4 separate regions of the Homo sapiens genome follow, and all the other regions are linked to region 3. The links are contacts of gene promoters, found by promoter capture Hi-C in human tissues and cell types (Jung and others, 2019). All regions are on one chromosome and are shown on one strand. The core of a region is centred on a gene start or on the middle of the fragment in contact, and the rest is flanking DNA. Distances in the headings are between cores, read along the strand shown.

Region 1 (2,946 bases), core at 69-2,568, 270 kb before region 3:
GACAGAGCGAGACTCTGTCTTAAAAAAAAAAAAGCTGGGTGTGGTGGTTGGTGGTACGCGCCTGTAGTCCCAGCTGCTCGGGAGGCTGAGGTGGGAGAATCACTTGAGCCTGAGGGGTCGAGGCTGTACTGAGCCATGATCATGCCACTGCACTTTAGCCTGGGGGACAGGGTAAAACCCTGTCTCAAAAAAAAAAAAAGACATTTAAAAATGTGTATTAATACATTATGCCTTCTGTGTAATTAAATATATAAAAATTGGTCTTATAATTAAAAACAAATTTTGCAAGATCGGGCTGGGCACGTGGCTCACACCTGTAATCCCAGCACTTTGGGAGGCCAAGGTGGGCAGATCACTTAAGGTTAGGAGTTTGGCCAACATGGTGAAACCCCGTCACTTCTAAAAATACAAAAATTAGCTGGGCACAGTGGTGGGCCCCTGTAATCCCAGCAACTGTGGAGGCTGAGGCAGGAGAATTGCTTGAACCTGGTAGGCAGAGGTTGCAGTGAGCTGAGATCACGCCACTGCACTCCAGCCTGGGTGACAGAGGAAAACTCCATCTCAAGAAAAAAAAAAATTGGCAAGATCTTAGCATTTATTAAAACTGAGAATGGGTGAGTAGATGCTTGTTATAGTATTCTTTGTAATTTTCCAAGAATGTTTGAAGATTTTTTTTTTTTTTTAAGACGGAGTCTCGCTCTGTTGCCCAGGCTGAAGTGCAGTGGTGCAATCTCGGCTCACTGCAAACTCCGCCTCCTGGGCTTATGCCATTCTCCTGCCTAAGCCTCCTGAGTAGCTGGGACTACAGGTGCCCGTCACCACACCTGGCTAATTTTTATTTTGCATTTTTAGTAGAGACGGGGTTTCACCATGTTAGCCAGGGTGGTCTCGAGCTCCTGACCTCGTTATCTGCCCGCCTTGGCCTCTCAAAGTGCTAGGATTATAGGCATGAGCCACTGAGCCTGGCCCTGAAATAGTTCTTAATTTAAAAACTGGGCCGGGCGCAGTGGCTCACGCCTGTAATCCCAGCACTTTGGGAGGCCAAGGTGGGTGGATCACGAGGTCAGCAGATCAAGACCATCCTGGCTAATAACATGGTGAAACCCCATCCCTACTAAAAACACAAAAAATTAGCCGGGCGTGGTGGTGGGCGCCTGTAGTCCCAGCTACTCGGGAGTCTGAAGCAGTAGAATGGTGTGAACCCAAGAGGCAGAGCTTGCCGTGAGCCGAGATCGCGCCACTGCACTCCAGCCTGGGCGACAGAGTGAGACTCTGTCTCAAAAAAAAAAAAACTGAGGGAAAGAGTGACTGGAGTTGAAGTGAATGTAGATAGAAGAGGCAGCCTCTAAAATGTTTGGTTGTGAAAGGGGACAGAGAGAAAACAAGAGTTGTTTCATGGTTTCTGGTGTTTCTTTGAATTTGACTCAAAAGTTTCACCTGTCAACGAAGGTGGGATGGGAGGTTTGAGGAGGGTGGAAAGGGTGTGAGATAGTCATGTTTGGAGAACTGAAGCTTGCTGGTTACAGAAAGTCATGTTGCCGGCCGGGTGCGTTGGCGCACACCTGTAATCCCAGCACTTTGGGAGGCTGAGGTGGGCGGATCATGAGGTCAGGAGATCGAGACCATCCTGGCTAACACGGTGAAACCCCGTCTCTACTAAAAATACAAAAAAATTAGCCGGGCGTGGTGGCAGGCGCCTGTAGTCCCAGCTACTTGGGAGGCTGAGGCAGGAGAATCGCTTGAACCTGGGAGGCGGAGCTTGCAGTGAGCCGAGATCACGCCACCGTACTCCAGCCTGGGTGACAGAGCGAGACTCCGTCTCAAAAAAAAAAAAAAAAAAGAAAGTCATGTTGCCAGGCGGTCAGGCGGTTTGGGGTGTCCGCTTGAGGTGGTGATGAGTCTGCCCAGCTGGTGGCTTTTTTCCAGCAAAGCTCAGTGGTAGGAGTTGAGACCTGAAGCGCGGCCTTTGTAGTCAGCCAGTCCTCAGATTTTGCTGCCAGTCAGGTGTGGTGAAAGGTGAGAGAGAAAGTATCGTGAGTGTGGACTTCAGGGTAGATCAAGAGGACCTAGTCAGACTAGGAGGGGTTGATAAATGGAAAATGGAGAGGCCAAGGATCGTAGGTCACGTTGCTGAAGCTTGAGGGCGGGAGGCAGAATAGGGGCACAGTCTTTGGAGTATTGGTTTCTTAAGGGGAGTGTGTTCTCTGGTTTTGACAAAAGCCAGCAAGTACCCTCTGAGGTGGCTGGCTGAGGAGTAGAGGGTCACCTCACTGGAGAGAGTGGTCAGGAAGTTGCCTAGTGTGAGAACAGGCATAGGTGTGGAGAAAACAAGGCAGGCTCTAAAGTCTGGGGAATGACTGGGGGTTAACATGATGGTGGGAACCTCAGATGAGCTGGGGGAGCAATGTCTAGAATTGCGCTGTTCAGTACAGTCCTGCCAACAGCCACTATTACTATTTAAATCAATCATGTCAACCTAAAATCAGTGACAGAGACTGACTCTCCAAAGAAATTTATTTGGAAATGTTGGGGGTTTGCAAGCTGGAGTACGCATGCTGTGGTGAACCATAAGCATGTCCAAAGGGGTTGGGACACAGGAAACTTTAAAAGACAAAGGGCAGTCCACAGTCCACTAAGCTATTTTAAAACAAAGACCACTGGTTACAGGAGCATGTTGCAGGCATTAGCATTAGCTCAGTGGTGGAGACATCCCTTGTTAGGGATGTTTCCTTGTACAAGCAGCTTATTATCTGGAATACTGTCGTTCTGAGGAATTCAGAATAGTTCCCATAATCAGCATCTGTGTGAGAGGCTGCTCCTTTGTGCCTCCCAGCTCCATTTTTTGGGAGTTTGACATTAGTGACTCCATTTTGATACTGAAAACTTTCATTATTAAAATTAACGTTTTATAATTGGTTCTTCAGTCTCAGCAGCCACATTTCAGGT
Region 2 (3,174 bases), core at 68-2,567, 400 kb after region 3:
TTTTTTTTTTGAGACAGAGTCTTGCTCTGTCGCCCAAGCTGGAGTGCAGTGGCACGATTTCGGCTCACTGCAACCTCTGCCTCCCGGGTTCAAGCGATTCTCCTTCCTCAACCTCCTGAGTAGCTGGGATTACAGGCGTGTGCCACTACGCCTGGCTAATTTTTGTATTTTTAGTAGAGACAGGGTTTCTCCATGTTGGTCATGCTCGTCTTGAATTTCTGACCTCGTGATCCACCTGCCTCGGCCTCCCAAAGTGCTGGGGTTGCAGATGTGAGCCACCGCCCCCGGCCCACATTTCTTTGTGTGATCAATATCCATCAACAACCATCTCGACCCAAGAACAGGAACATTTATAATTATGGGGTTTTTGTTGCTTTTTGTGGACTACAGCCTTCGTGAGAGGAGGAATTACTCTATTGTGGTTACTCTTGTAACCATACTCAGGTCCTAGACAAGTGCCTGGCCCATCGAAGGTGTAAGTAAATAATGTGATTGAATGACAGAAAGCCTCAACAGACAAATAGTTGAGTCTAGCTAATCTTACATTAAAAACGAAGCAAGCTCAATAAACTAATCTACAACAGTCATCTCTGTAGCAAAGCTGGAGTTTCTTATTCTCTTTTATGTTTATTTTTATTCAGTTCCCTTTCAGGCTATGGAGTTCCTTATTCTCTGGTGTGGCACGCACACCAGAATCTGTGAGAAGCTATGCGTCGTGCTCTGATTTTTCACCCTTAGTTGCCTAACAGGAACATCCCATACTGGTTTTTGTTTTTCTTTTTCTTTTTGAGACAGGGTCTTGCTTTGTCTCCCAGGCTGGTGTGCAGTGGCGCCATCTGGGCTCAATGCAGCCTCGACCTCTTGGGCTCAAACCCTCCCGCCTCAGCTTGCCGAGTACTTGGGACTACAATCGCCCAGCTAATTTTTATATTTTTTTGTAGTGTCTGGGTCTCGCTCTGTTGCCCAGGGTGGTCTCCAACTCCTGGGCTCACGTGATCCTCCCACCTCTGCCTCCCGAGTAGTTGGTATTACAGGTGTGAGCCACCCCGCCCTGCCCCCAGATTGCTTTAGCGCATTCTGACCTACTCCAGCTTTCTTCACATTTCAAAAAGCACCAATCCCAGGATGCAATGCAGACAATGAGTACCAGTCGCTTAGAAACCACACGTCCCAGCATGCCGTCCTCCGGGCAATCGCAAGCCCGATAGGCCCCGCTGCATTCCGGGAGTTGTAGTCTCTAGCGACTGGCCCCGCCCCGTGTGCAGCTTTCGCGGCCTGCGTCTGGAGAAAACCCTAGCGGGTGGCTCCGTGCGGCCAGAGCTCTAGAGAGTGGTGCCGCCTTCCAACCTTCTTCCCCAAGCCCTGGTGGCCGGCTCCGCCTCTTCTCGAATCTTTTCCACAGCCCAAAATGGCCGCAGAGGTGTATTTTGGCGATCTAGAGCTCTTCGAGCCGTTCGACCACCCAGAGGAGTCGATTCCGAAGCCCGTTCACACTCGCTTCAAGGACGACGACGGCGACGAGGAGGACGAAAATGGGGTCGGCGACGCGGAGCTACGGGAGCGGCTTCGGCAGTGCGAGGAGACCATCGAGCAGCTCCGCGCCGAGAATATCCTTTCCTCTCGCTGGGCCCTGTCACCCGGGTGTGGGGCCGGGGCAGCGCCAGGCGTGGGGCCGGGGCAGCGCCGGGCGAGGGCGAGGGCGCGGGCGGAAGTTCCAGGAGGGCCAGAATTCCAAGTGCTTTCTGTCACCCGCCGGCGGACCGAGAGTCTAGGGTTCGGGGCGCGCAGGCTGCCTCGGCGCAGACCTCTTCCCCTCAGGGAGGCCGTCTCCTGACCAGACCCACTCCTGCCTCCCACCCGGGTGCCGTGTTTAGGGTTATTTTAGGCTGCTCACCTGACAGATTGTACACAAGCCCTTAATTGCCCCCCTCTGTTTGAGGTCGTGGTGAGGTTTCATATTTCGCAGCCACGCTCAAATTGTGCCGTCATGTTACAGTTGTAGGTGATGAAATACCGGCTGCTTAGACGCGGGATCGGTTTTTATACCGGGGCAAACGCTAGTGGTCCCAGAATGCAGAGTTGGGGGCCTCAAGGAATCCGGGTGTGCTGAGATAATTGGTTAATTGCTTGATTAAAATTGGGGATTAATTTTAGAGTTCTTCCACTCGGAGCTCGCTTCTGTGCTGAAGATGCTTTGCAACGCCTTGAGGAAAACGCGCCAAAGAAGTTTCTGTTAGACTTGAGTTACAAGATTGCAGATTTTTCTTGATTTGCTAGTATGTTTTTTTTTACGTTCGTAGAGTTTTATAGGTAGATAGATAACTTTGGTTCGGGTAGTTTTCCTTTTAAAATTTGTAGAGAACTGAAAGTGGCTGATATGTTAGCTTTTTTAGGGGGACGGGGTCGGGGAATGGAGTCTCAGTCTGTTGCCCAGGCTGGAGTGCAGTGGCGCGATCTCGGCTCACTGCAACCTCCGCCTCCCGGGTTCAAGCGATTCTCCTGCCTCAGCCTCCCGAATAGCTGGGATTACAGGCGCCCGCCACGGCGCCCAGTCAGTATATCAGTTTTTAAGGTTTGTGAAGCGCGATTTATTTTTTCAGAATGTCGTCTTCCTCCACATTGTGAGGAAAATTTTCAGAATACAAAAAGTTGAGGCCGGGCGCTGTGGCTCAAGCCTGTAATCCCAGCACTTTGGGAGGCCGAGGCGGGTGGATCATGAGGTCAGGAGGATCATGAGGATCAGGTGGATCATGAGGATCAGGAGGTCAGCCTGGCCAACATGGTGAAACCCCGTCTCTACTAAAAATACAAAATTAGCCGGGCGTGGTGGCGCGTGCTTGTAATCCCAGCTACTCAGGAGGCTGAGGCAGGAGAATCCCTTGAACCTGGGAGGCGGAGGTTGCAGTGAGCCAAGATCACACCATTGCACTCCAGCCTGGGCGACAGGGTGAGACTGTGTCTCAAAAAAAAAAAAAAAAAGTTGAAAGGATTCTACAGTGGACATCCATAGATTTATTCCAAATTCTAAAGTTGTTAACAGCTCGTTATACTGCATTCTCTTTATCACATAGTGGTTGTTGAAAGGTTTGACAGGAACACTGATGCTTCAATAATGGTTTTGGTTCAGTTTGTTAGTCTGTTGAACTTCAGGATCGTGTCTTAGAATATATGTTC
Region 3 (3,198 bases), core at 631-3,130:
GGAGAATAGCGTGAACCTGGGAGGCAGAGCTTGCAGTGAGCTGAGATTACACCACTGCACTCCAGCCTGGGCGACAGAGCAAGGTTCCGTCTCAAAAAAAAAAAAAAACAAAACAAAACAAACAAAAAAAAACCTTTAGCTTACGGATTATATGAAACATTTCTTTTGGCCGGGCGGGGTGGCTCAGGTCTGCAATCCCAGCACTTTGGGAGGCTGAGGTGGGCGGATCACTTGAGGTCAGGAGTTCGAGACCAACCTGGCCAACATGGTGAAACCCCATTTCGACTAAAAACACAAAAATTAGCTTGGCGTGATGGCGCATGCCTGTAGTCCCAGCTACTTGGAAGGCTGAGGCAGGAGAATCGCTTGAACCCAGGAGGCGGAGATTGAGGTGAGCTGAGATCGCACCACTGCACTCCAGCCTGGACGACAGAGCAAGACTCTGTCTCAAAAAATAAAAAAAGCAATAGTTCCTCTAACTTTCATCATTTTTCTGCAAACACGAGCCCTTAGTACAACGGGCTGGAAGGAGAGAAGAGGTTGGCAGAGCCCAGCCTAACGTATGGATGGAGAACACAGACCTTATGTTTTACCCATGGAGTTGCAGAAGAATCAGCTTTATACACAAAGCCCCTAAGTCTGCCGATAAGCATTTGCTGAATGCCTCGACTGTGTTCAGAGCTGAGTTATGAGACGAGGTCAGTGTGTTATGATGCCAGCGTGGTGGACGCCAGACTGGGAGCCAGGAGACCTGCCAATTACTTGATTTTCAGAAACAAAGCAAAAGCCCAAAAAATTTCCCCTTCTCAGGGCTTCAGTTCCCTTATGTGTAAAATTAGGGGGCTGTCATGGTTAACCTCAGCCTTAGGTTTCTTCTAACTAGAACTGTGACAGATTCCAAAGTAGGATAATGAGTTCCCAGGCTCCTGGATCTTAAGAGGCTTCCCGGTAGCTGAGAGACTGAGAGCGACTGCACCCTAAATCGTGTTGTTTCTGAAAGAGCACAGGTTGGCCCACCTGGATGTCTGGGCACCTTCCTCTGAGGTGATGCAAAGGGGCCACTCAATGGGTCCTTGCTCAAAATGCTCCAGCCTTACTGGCCTTCTTCCCATTCCTGAATGCACCAAGTTAGTCCTGTCCCAGGGCCTTTGCACGTGCTGGTTTTGCTGCCTTGAGCTTCCTACAGGAATGGTGGCTGGTTCCTCCCTTCTCATCCTTCACATTTCCTTAGACGCCACCTTCTCCGAAAGTGCCATCTCTTACTACCCTAAAGGTCTTTTTATTTTCTTATTTCAGTGTCCATTCCCTTATTTGTGATCGCCTAATTATTTTACTTATTTCTTGTTTTGTTTGCGTCCTCTTTCATTCTGTTAGCTCCATGTAAGCAGGGGTCCGTTTTGCTTTATTCAGAACTGTATACTCAATGCCCAGTACAGAGTAGGTCTCAAAACATATTTGTTAAATGAATGACGTGGCAGCTCCACAATTCCAAGTAACCAATGACACCTAAAGTTGTTTCCCCATGAAGTCTCTGTCTTTTGGGTTCCGTGCATCGGGCTGGGCTCACAGGCTGCGGGAACTTCCTTCCCACTGCCTGTTTTCCTTGGATCGCGGTATCTCTCTTCCTGGAGGAAAAAGGCTCTTATGACCTCATGGCGCGCTCTCCCGAGCCGCAGTGACGTCATTAATGCGCTCACGCGTCACAGCCCAATCATAGGGCCCTTCCCCTCCCTTTAGAAGTCCCGACTGTCCCTGACACATTCCACTCCAAGCGAGCCGCGACACTTACGTCACGTCCGCCCGCCCGCGCGGTGATGACGTCACGACCCAGGGCTGGCGTCACGTGTCCCCCCCGCGGGGGGCGGCCCTTGAGGGCGGCGCTTCCGGTCGGCGGAGCCTGGTGGCCGCAGCGGCGGTGGCGACGACGGCCGAGACGTGGGGATGGCGGGCGCCGGGAGCGAAGCCCGGTTCGCCGGGCTGTCGCTGGTGCAGCTCAACGAGCTGCTGGAGGACGAGGGCCAGCTGACGGAGATGGTGCAGAAGATGGAGGAGGTGAGCCGAGCTGGGCTTAAGGCGGCGGCTGTGAGGCCTCGAGCGGGGTTCGCTCCTCGAACGGTGGCCGGAGGCGGAGGCGACCGCGGCGCCTCCGGTCGTGTTGAGGGGACTGGGCTAGAAATGGGGGCGCTTGGGGCGGGGTGCGGGAGCCAGGGAACCGCGACTGGTGCTTAGGCAGGAATAGGGGGCCTGAGAGGGGGTTTGAGGCACTGAGGGGACCGAGACTAGGGCGGAGGCGGGAAAAAGGGTCCTGAGACGGGGCTTGGGGAGCCGATTGGGGGTCCTGAGACAAGGTTTTGTGGGGCTGAGGACTTAAGGCTGGGTCTGAAGACTTAAGGCTGGGTCTGAAGTGGAGATTAGGGAGCCTGGAATGGGAATTTGGGGATTAGAGTGCTATCGTTGGGTCTAGGCGGAAGAGGACGGAACTGGGGGGATCTGAGATTGGTTTGGTCGGAGGAGCGGGGAGAGTAATAAGGGCTGAGTCGGAGGCGAGGATTAGGGGTGACTGAGGGGGACCAAGAGCTAGATCTGGTAGAGGTTGGGGGGTTTCCTTTGAGAGGAAAGGTTGGGGACAACCAGGGGGACTGAGGCAGCTATAGGGGATCAGAGTAGGTTTTGGGGGACTGAGTGGACTATCCAAATAGGACTCTTAGGAGAGGATTGAGGGTTCCAAGATGGGTTCGGGAGGCTGAGGGTCTGTAGCTGAGTCTATGAGGTGGTTCTGAGGCTCTTTAAGGGTTGGGCGAGGGTCCCCAGCCCAGGGTTTGGAGGCAGGAGTCCATGGTCATACCATAGCCAGGGTAAGGTTTGAAGGTTCCATGTATCTAAGGGGTCCCAATAATGCCCCTGGAGTCTGACTTCTTTTGAAGTGGCCCCAGCAGAGTTACGGGAGTTCGTGGATGGGCCTAAGGGTGGCGACAGGATACGTTTTTCTGTAAGGGTTGCCCCCTCCACCGAGGAAGGGAAGGTGGGAAATTTAGTGTGGCTGGCTTTGTACCACTGCGTCCCACGTGTCTGGGACTAAGGAAGGTTCCTGGAGCAGTTTCAGGAAGAAGTTAAAATGGGGGTTTGGGGCTGGCTGCCAACCCTCACCTCTGAGAGTCAAGCCTTGCCCAGCCCCTGGAAGGCATGTGCCAGCTCCTG
Region 4 (3,285 bases), core at 378-2,877, 370 kb after region 3:
AGATGGTTTTTGTTGTTGCTCTGTAGTATATTTTACAGATGAAAATGGTTGATGATGTAAGTTTAAGTTAGCCTATGTCACAGGGAGGTTTCTCTGTTGTCCAGCTTTGTGATGTTAAGCATGAAGTTAAAGTTAGATAAACCATTGCCTGAAAACTGCCTAGGCTAAGCACTAGATTTTCCATGAGAAGGTTGTTTTCGATTCTAGTCTTGTTCTCTGCAAAAGTAAATGGGATTTGCCACTAGTTAAGGAATTCTGTCTCTGGCAAAAGTGTCGTGCAACTGAGAGAAGTAATAGCGGTGCTTAAAATTTTCGAGATCACTTCTGTTTACCAAGTGTAAGCTGTACAAACACTCAGCAAGTAATAAATGAGTCTGAAATAGTCCTCAAGGATAACGATGAAAAAAAAAAGTGTCCAGAATTCATTGTGAAAAATCAGAATCATCCTTAATGATACAGCATTATTTATTAGTAGTAAACAGTAAAGATACGGAGATGCAGTATCATTTTAAGCAAGTCAGCTAATGTTGCTGGATCTCATCTGTGAAACGAGAAAGTTGAACTCTATTCTAAGGGGTGAAAACCTTTCAGCATAAAAATTTTATGGTTCCAGAAGTCACCCAGACTGGAGAAATAAGTACATATACAATATGCTGGCATGAGAGCCTCCCTGGTAGTTAATTTCTTACTGTTCTTTTTGTGCCATTGTTAGAGGAATAACACGTAATTTATGTCTTTCATCTCATAATTGAACTGCAAAACCTTTCTGTTTTTAATTTATCATTTTATTCCCTAAGTCTAGCATTGGTTTTGGCACATTTTTGACCCTTAGTAAATACTTGTTGAAGTAACTCGACCTCTCACAACTTCATTTATTAAAGTACAATACACCCATTTATTGTACTTGATACTTGTTTAAAATTTGTTAAAATACAATACCCCCATTTATTGTACTTGATATTTGGTATTCATTTTCTGGACTAACTTTCCTAAAGGAGGAAGTTCTCTAATGTGATTCCTCCTGCTGAAGACTATCGATTCCCTATTTATTCAATCCAGATTCCGTTTGATGTTATACGTGAAAAGTCCATAAACTGTTTCTGTAAAGGGCCAGACGGTAAATATTTTTGGCTTTGTGGGCCATGTGCAGTCTCTGTCACATTCTTTCCCAGGCTGGAGGGGCAGTGGCGCAATCTTAGCTCACTTCAACGTCTGCCTCATGGGTTCAAGCCATTCTCCTGTCTCAACCTCCTGAGTTGCTGGGATTACAGGCACGCCCCACCACTCTTGGCTAATTTTTGTGTTTTTAGTAGAAGCAGGGTTTTACCATGTTGGCTAGGCTGGTCTCAAACTCCTGACCTCAGGTTATCCGCCTGCCTCAACCTCCCAAAGTGCTAGGATTACAGGCATGAGCCACAACACTGGCGTTTTAAGTGCCTTTAGTTTTAACAGTTCAGTCTTTACAGTGCTATTTACTGAAGTTATTTATTAAATATGCCTAAAATAGTTTTAAAAAACGTAAAAAACCATTCCTAGCTCAAGGCCATACAGAAACAGAATGAGGACCATAGCTTGCCAACCCTTCCTAAGTAATCAATTCCCCAGGTGTATCAATTATTTTATTTTCATGTTATCTTCTCTGGTCAGATAGCCGAGCATTGTCTACCTTCTGCATTAGTTGAAACTTGTAAAATTTATATTGTAATAATTACTTATAAAATGCTTTAAAGCAGAAACAACTTAATGTTTTCATAGCCCAGAGCACATGTGAGGAGAGGCAGACCATATTTTGCAGCAGCACTGTGCCAAGGGGCTGTTTTCATTAAAGAGGGTTAATGACATTAAGATGAGGTTCTCACTTAGGTAAGTTAATTTTCTGTTTATTATTTTATAATATTCTTAGGGCATTGTTTTAAGATTTTATCGTCTTGAGTATCTTTAAGCTTTAACAACTCATTTTTGATGTTTGACATGTATGCTAATTTAAAAGTATTGGTAAAGTCAGCTAAATGCATTCACACATCTAAAAAGGACTATTTTCTCTGCTTGAATGCTTATTAGAACTACTTGGAGCCCTTATTCCTCCCCCACCCCACCCCATGTTTTAAAAGTTATACAAATCATCGTTAGAAAATTAAAGATACATCAGTCTAAATATGTAGGTCTTGCTTTAGTATCAGGTTCGTCATTTCAAGCCATTCAGCCTTATTAGTGTACAAAGCACATTTAGTTACTTGGAAAGCAGGCATTCTGATTTATTGATTGTGGGGGGCTATCTTCCCTCCCTTTGTCCCTCTTTTAAGAAATTGAAAACATTTAAAATGTAATTAAGAACTTTAATCATTTGTTTTTAAACTTTTAGGCTAGTGATACAGAGCGAGATGGACTAGCCCCAGAAAAGACATCACCAGATAGAGATAAGAAAAAAGAGCAGTCAGAAGTATCTGTTTCTCCTAGAGCTTCAAAACATCATTATTCAAGATCACGATCAAGGTCAAGAGAAAGAAAACGAAAGTCAGGTATGAATTCTTAAAGGTGGTTACAACTCTCAGCATTTGTATAAGATATGTAGACCTGTTGTATAAGAAGACACATACATTTAGTTTGTTGGCTGGGCATGGTGGCTCAAGCCTGTAATGCCAGCACTTTGGGAGGCCAAGGCAGGCAGATCACCTGAGCCAGGACCAAAAATACAAAAATTGACACACTCTCAGCCCAATGCAACCTCCATCTGCTGGGTTCAGGCAGTTCTTCTGCCTCAGCCTCCTGAGTAGCTGGGATTATAGGCGTGCGCCACCACGCCTAGCTTATTTTTGTATTTTTAGTAGAGACTGGGTTTCACCATGTTGGAACATATCAAATATAATTCAACCTGTTTATTTTCTTTAGTTTTTATTTTTCTTAATGGCTTACCTCTCTCTATTAAACCCCCTTATGAATTTGCTGTAGACTAGGAAACTAGATGGGCTGGTCAGAATATATGTAAAATACTGAAAGTCTATGACCGTTTAAAAGATGTATCTAGGCTGCTTTATGTCCTGGTTTGCTCAGATTGCTTGATTTGTTTCACATGTGTGTTGTATTAATGTAGAATAATCCCACCCGTGCCATGAAAAAATTAGTCATTGGAAGAAGACTAATGGGAGTCATTTTTCTCCAGCATTAAGAGTTTTTTAAGATGAAATGTTTCTCCAACTTTGTTTATGGTGATTATTTTTTTTGTGTATTCACAGATAATGAAGGAAGAAAACACAGGAGCCGGAGCAGAAGCAAAGAGGTAATTAA

What was found. The method cuts DNA at HindIII sites, captures the fragments that hold promoters and counts their contacts. A contact is called where the count stands out against the background at its distance.
Region 1: a fragment that was not itself captured here is called in contact with the fragment with the promoter of VPS37B in region 3 in 1 of the 25 tissues and cell types used here (pancreas).
Region 2: a contact is called between the fragment with the promoter of ZCCHC8 here and the fragment with the promoter of VPS37B in region 3, in 1 of the 25 tissues and cell types used here (aorta).
Region 4: a contact is called between a fragment that was not itself captured here and the fragment with the promoter of VPS37B in region 3, in 1 of the 25 tissues and cell types used here (aorta).

Annotation. Positions count from the first base shown.
Region 1 is chr12:123,167,236-123,170,181 of GRCh38, reverse strand. All of the region lies in intron 16 of MPHOSPH9 (M-phase phosphoprotein 9), which reads left to right. Among named protein-coding and RNA genes, the nearest start is that of PITPNM2, 18 kb to the right of the region's middle. The HindIII fragment of the contact is 3,215 bases long and covers 1-2,925 here.
Region 2 is chr12:122,499,075-122,502,248 of GRCh38, reverse strand. ZCCHC8 (zinc finger CCHC-type containing 8) reads left to right here and starts at 1,317. Exons shown (of 14, transcript NM_017612.5): 1 at 1,317-1,607. The coding sequence starts at 1,409. RefSeq lists enhancers at 272-963, 899-1,078, 1,129-1,188, 1,389-1,468, 964-1,657 and 1 more and a silencer at 1,609-1,758. The HindIII fragment of the contact is 12,081 bases long and covers 1-3,174 here.
Region 3 is chr12:122,894,806-122,898,003 of GRCh38, reverse strand. It overlaps VPS37B (VPS37B subunit of ESCRT-I), which reads left to right and starts at 1,880. Exons shown (of 4, transcript NM_024667.3): 1 at 1,880-2,052. The coding sequence starts at 1,942. RefSeq lists a silencer at 1,737-1,886 and an enhancer at 2,067-2,216. The HindIII fragment of the contact is 16,898 bases long and covers 1-3,198 here.
Region 4 is chr12:122,521,377-122,524,661 of GRCh38, reverse strand. RSRC2 (arginine and serine rich coiled-coil 2) reads left to right here. Exons shown (of 10, transcript NM_023012.6): 2 at 2,363-2,519; 3 at 3,234-3,277. Among named protein-coding and RNA genes, the nearest start is that of RSRC2, 3.9 kb to the left of the region's middle. The HindIII fragment of the contact is 5,664 bases long and covers 1-3,285 here.